2 separate regions of the Homo sapiens genome follow, and region 1 is linked to region 2. Evidence: promoter capture Hi-C in 16 types of primary human blood cells and fetal thymus (Javierre and others, 2016). All regions are on one chromosome and are shown on one strand. Each heading gives the region's core, a stretch centred on a gene start or on the middle of the fragment in contact. The rest is flanking DNA. Distances are from core to core; before and after follow the strand shown.

What was found. The method cuts DNA at HindIII sites, captures the fragments that hold promoters and counts their contacts. A CHiCAGO score of 5 or more calls a contact.
Region 1: a fragment that was not itself captured here is called in contact with the fragment with the promoter of FHAD1 in region 2 in 7 of 17 cell types (M1 macrophages, M2 macrophages, megakaryocytes and 4 more); the score reaches 8.5 in M1 macrophages.

Annotation. Positions count from the first base shown.
Region 1 is chr1:15,124,708-15,127,407 of GRCh38, reverse strand. The region is part of intron 1 of TMEM51-AS1 (TMEM51 antisense RNA 1); the gene reads left to right. Among named protein-coding and RNA genes, the nearest start is that of TMEM51-AS1, 26 kb to the left of the region's middle. The HindIII fragment of the contact is 8,431 bases long and covers 1-2,700 here.
Region 2 is chr1:15,245,970-15,248,669 of GRCh38, reverse strand. It overlaps FHAD1 (forkhead associated phosphopeptide binding domain 1), which reads right to left and starts at 1,447. Exons shown (of 34, transcript NM_001391957.1): 1 at 1,275-1,447. RefSeq lists silencers at 1,182-1,421, 1,439-1,612. The HindIII fragment of the contact is 5,643 bases long and covers 1-2,700 here.

The sequences.
Region 1 (2,700 bases), core at 6-2,505, 120 kb after region 2:
TTGGGTGCCATAAAGCAGTGGTTCCCAACTGTGGCACTTATGTCCCTCATGGAGTGTGACCTGATTTGGGGGACATGCAGGTGAGCATTTGCAGGAATATTTATTTGTATATTTATGTGCATACTTGGCACATAGAGGCACACATATCCGTACCCACATCTATGTATTAGAAAACAGAGCCAGCGTCTTAGGCCTGTGGTTACACAGACACAGGCAGTGATGTCAGGTCTGGCCCGATTTAAAATAGGCAGCTATTATGCCAATAATAGTAGAGCTGGTTGTGGATGTGGTTGGAATAGTCAGGGTGGTCTTGGGGAACCCAGCCATAGAGGAACTTTCTGCTTGGGTTTGGAGACTGATGTCAGTGACATGGACTGGCTTTCCTGTGAGTGAGGACTCCACCCCAGGGCCTTCACTCTTGTGTCACCAAGAGGGTGTCGGCAAAGTTGCCGTTTTTAACAAGCCAGTCTGAAGCCTCTGGTGACCTCGATGCTGGAGTTTGTTGGGTTAAGTGACCACAAAACCAAATGAACCTGCCCACCTAACACGTGTCTCCTGGAGTCTTTCACTCTTGCTTTGTGTTTCTTTTCTTCACAGCACCTGCTGACATGATATATATGTATGTGTGCATTATTTCAGGCCAGAGACTGTTTTGTCAGTAGATCTATTTCACATAGTGCTGGCATAAGGCACACACACCCAGCAAGTGTTTGTTGAGTGAATAAATGATGGAAGCAACTTTGATAAGACTTGCTCCAGTTGTTTGGGGATGCCAGTTGCATGCCCATCTATCTCTGAGAGGCTCCTGGAAGAGCATCTTGCAGCAAGTGTACCAGGGCTCTGTGCTGTCAGGGTGGTGTTGGCTCCATCCTCTTGGCGCTGGGTTGATCTCTATCCTGAGCTAGAACCGGAGTTGTCCTGGAGAGGAACCTGGCCAGAAAAGAGCCATGTGGAAACCCTGTGAAGAAACCAAAAGAGGGGCGATGGTCCTGGGGTGTCCAGATGGTGGCATGGCAGTGAGGAGACACAGAGCCATAACTTGCCCACAAAAGCAGCCTGGCTTCTGACTCTGCAACTCTCACAGGCTCAAGGGGACGACATTGTAACCAAAATGCAGATTCAGTTCCTCGCCACTTGCAGAGTCTAATTAACAAGCTAGGTCTGGTATAAAGAAAGTGACTTTTTATTCCAAAGCTAACATAGGGAAAGAAGTACAGGCTTCCTGCCTTAAGGGTTCCACCTTGCCTTTGGAGCAGAAGGGGAGTGTTTTTAAAAGGGGCCTACACAGGGGTGGAAGTGAGCAGGGGGGTTTCACATGCTACCTTGATGGCTTATTTACTGGGACTCGAGTTGGCATCTTCATGGGCATACTTTGGGTCATCAATCAACTGTTATCTATCGAGGAAACCTCCTGGTGGGTGAGAGTTTTGCTTTGGAGCTTCTAAGCACATGATTAGGTGAACTTGCCCTGTAAGGAGTGTGTGGGGAAGAGGAGGTAAAAGGCTATAACTGCATTTCTAAAGAGCTAAGTAGGAAGTGAAGAACAGGGAGAAATGGAGAAAAGAAGAGAAAATAATAAAGAATAATAGTAACTCCTTGTCTTTTTCCGGGAAAAATGGGGGCACTTGTTACTCATCTCTAGCAGCAAGACTGGGTCAATTAAAAAAACAGAAGAATTTAGGATTCTTTCATGCTTCCAAGTTGTTCTGTGTAATGCAGATAGAGTCCTTAAAATGCAGGCGAGAGTTGTGTGTGTGCATGTGTGTGGTATGTAGTTGCTGGGAGAAAGGGTGGGAGTCACCTCAGTGTCAAGGCCAGTGGACAGTAGGTCATTTACCTGGGAATCTTCTCCAGTCAAGCATGTGGAATCCAATTCTAGTTGTCTTTAGCTGGTGATGGGGGTAGTGTGTGAGACTCTTACGTGCTGAATTGCATATCCTCAAAATTCAGATGTGGAGTACCTAAGGGTGTATTTGGAGATCAGATCTTTAAAGAGGTAATTAAGTTCAAATGAGGTCAGATGGGTGGGCCCTAATCCAACATGACTACTGCCTTATAAGAAGAGGCGATTTGGGCACACACATACATAGAGAGGCAACCGTGGATGGACCACAAGGAGAATATGGCCGTTTGCAAGCCAAGGAGAGGGGCCTCAGAAGAAGCCAACCCTGCTGGCACCCTGAGGTTGGATTTCCAGCCTCCAGGACCATAGGCGGGTCCATGTCTGTTGTGCAAGCACCGTGGCCTGTGGCTCTTGATTATGGCAGCCCTAGCAAACTAAGACACAGAGAAATGGGAATGGTAGGGTGGTGGTGCTTAGTGCATCACAACCAAACCTCAGAAAGCAGGGGTGGACGTGGCCTTGGAGACGACTGGATCTGAGAATAGATCAGTTGTCCTTGCCCCCCTCCCGCATCTAGGCATCCGACTCTGGCTGGGCCCCGTTCTCTAGGCATCTCCTTGTGGGTGGGATGGGGCAGCCTGCAGCTCTGGGACTCGTCGTACAGCTTAAGATCCAAAAAAAAGCGGCAGCTCACCGCCACCTGCAATTCTGAGCCCTGTCGGAAAGGGTTCTGATTTTCACCTCTCAGGTTTGGAGTCTACTCCCGGGCCTTTCATCATGGGCCAGGGCTGCAGGGCTGGATTGGTCCAGCCAGGATCCTGAGACTTCCCTGAAGGCGGGGTTGGGGGTGAGGTGGG
Region 2 (2,700 bases), core at 198-2,697:
AGGTTGCAGTGAGCTGAGATTGTGCCACTGCACTCTATCTAGCTTGGGAGACAGAGCAAGACTCTGTCTCAATTAAAAAAAAAAAAAAAAGGTCATCTCCTTCCAGGGCAAAGGTTGGGCACTGGCTAGCAGCCCCTTTTAAAAGACTGGAGTTTCCTGAGCTTGGGGTTCCTTAGCTGGGAAACAGACTCGCAGTGTGCACAGCATCCACCTGAGCTGTCCTGCATCACCCCGGGGTACTTGCAGGGCAAGGGGAACCAACGCAAACATGAGCTCACAGTGCCTGCTGTGCTGTGAGTAATAACATCCTTTGTCTCTGGTCCTGGAGTCTCTGGTCTTCTGCTAGCATCATTAAGCAGTGGCAGGCTAACTTAGCTTGCAAGTAGTGTAAAAATCTCAGACCCTTTGCATTTCCTCACAGTCTGTTCATTACTCCCCTCTGGCCCCCAGCGCTGCCATGCCTGACACATAGTGGTGCTCAGTAAATCATGAATGAATGAAAGTACAAAACAATGCTTAAAAGTAAGTCAGGGTAGCCTAAGAACCTCTGACAGTAACTACCTTTCATTTTCCCCTTCAGTATTTATCCTAGATGACATTCTGGAAAAAAAAAAAAAAGTCTATTTCTTTAGCTGAATGGGTTGGGCCCTATTTCCCCACTTTAATCTTGCCCTGTGCAGTCACTTTCCTACCTGAAAACACTGTAGAAAGTGATTAGATGCGTTAAACTCTGTAAATTAGTTCTAAGACACAGGGCACCGACCATGCAAAAGAGCAAAAGAGCTTCAGGCATCTGCACTCCCTGCTTATAGGTCACAAGTGAGATAGAGAAGCAAAATTTCTGTTGAGGGGTTACCAGATCTTAAGTGGCCTGGGAGCCCTAGAAATTCCTCAGTGTTGTATTTGGGAAGGGAGAGGTTAGGCAAGGGGGGAGTCTCTCTGACCGCCGGGTGGGTGTCGTTCGTAAGTCAGGGGCAGCAGGGATGCCCCTCCTAATCCCAGCTGTAACCCCCAGGACTTCCCAGAGTGGCATGGCTGGTGCCAAGGAGGGTCTAAGGCTCCCGGGGGCTTCCTCCGCGGGCGGGGTGGGGCCTGCATCTGGAAAGGAGGGGCTGGTGTTGGGGTAGCTACTGGGGTGCTCCTGGGGACCGGAGCCTGGATCCAGGAGGATGGGGCCGGGGAGCCACCCCTCCTCCTGCCAGGGCTAGTCCTCGCTGGGCCGCCCCTTCCGGTCCCCGGTCTCGGCCCGCCACCCCTTCCCGCGCCGCACTCACCTGGCGGGAGGAGGAAGCCCACGCTCCGACCTCCGCCGAGAGCCCTGCCAGCTCGGGAGGCGTCGGGCCAGCTCCGGGGCGAAGCCTCCCGGCCGCGCTCCCGCGGAGTCTCCAGCTCGCACCCGGCACCCCGCCCGCCCGGCCGGCCTGTGTACGCGCGTTGCCATGGCAACGCCGCCAGGCGCCGCGGGGTCCAGCCTAATAGATGAGGGCGTGGCCTGCGCGGCAGAGGGGGCGTGGCACCGTGCAGGGAACGCCCACTGGGTTACCGCCTGCTGAATGCTCCAGGCCCCACGAGCCTGCCCCATTTCACAGATAGGAAAGCGGAGGCTCAGAGGTCACAGAAATGGCCCAAGGTTTTACAGCGAGGAAGGAGCAGGGAGGAGATTTGATTCAAGAATCCTTTCCATTACCCCTCACTGTAAGCTGGATGCGTTGAGGGAGGGTCGGGGGCGATAGGGAGAGGTAGGAGATTGATGGAGCTGAACTCATGAGACCCTTGGAGGTTAGTATGCCCCCTGCCCTACCCAAATCTCTAGTCCTTTCCGTTACAGGCCAGAAAATAGAAAGAGTAAGAAGAGGGGATCTCTGGGAGTGGGGTGGGGATTGGGAAAGGGATGGGGTGGAATGAAAAATTTTGAAAGAATGAGGATTTCTTCCATGTGCTGGGGAAAAAATATTTCCAAACTCACAATCCTGCTGCCTCTGCTCCTCCCTGTTAAGAGTGACATTTATTCATTCTTTTGCCCTTTCTCTATCTCTGCAAACATCTTTTGAGTCCTATGAGTGTCACACGCTGATCCCAGAATACACCTGGAACAGTTACTGTCCTTAAGAAACCGCTTGTCAGCCGGCACAGGACTCGCGGGATGGAGTGTGTTGAGCAGATGTGCAAATCCTATCTCCCGCCACTATCTCCAGCAGGAAATCCTATCTCCTGCTGACTCTACCTGGAGAGTGATTCCTTTCACTGGCAGGAAATGGCTGACCAGACACCTCAAGAAAAACTCTAAACGTTTTTCTAAGAGAGATGAACTATGGCACATTCTACCCTAGTGATACGGTTTGGCTGTGTGTCCCCACCCAAATTTCATCTCGAATTGCACTCCCCACGTGTTGGAAGAGGGGCCTGGTGGGAGGTGATTGAATCATGGGGGCAGACTTCCCGCTTGCTTTTCTCATGATAGCGAGTGAGTTCTCATGAGATCTGATGGTTTAAAAGTGTGGCACTTCCCCCTTTGCTCTCTCTCTCTCCTGCTACACCATGTTACAACATGCTAGCTTCCTTGCTTCCCCTTGGCCTTCCGCCATAACTGTAAGTTTCCTGAGGCCTCCCTAGCAGTGCAGAACTGTGAGTCAATTAAACTTCTTTTCTTTGTAAATTATTCAGTCTCAAGGAATTACTTTATAGCAGTGTGAGAACAGA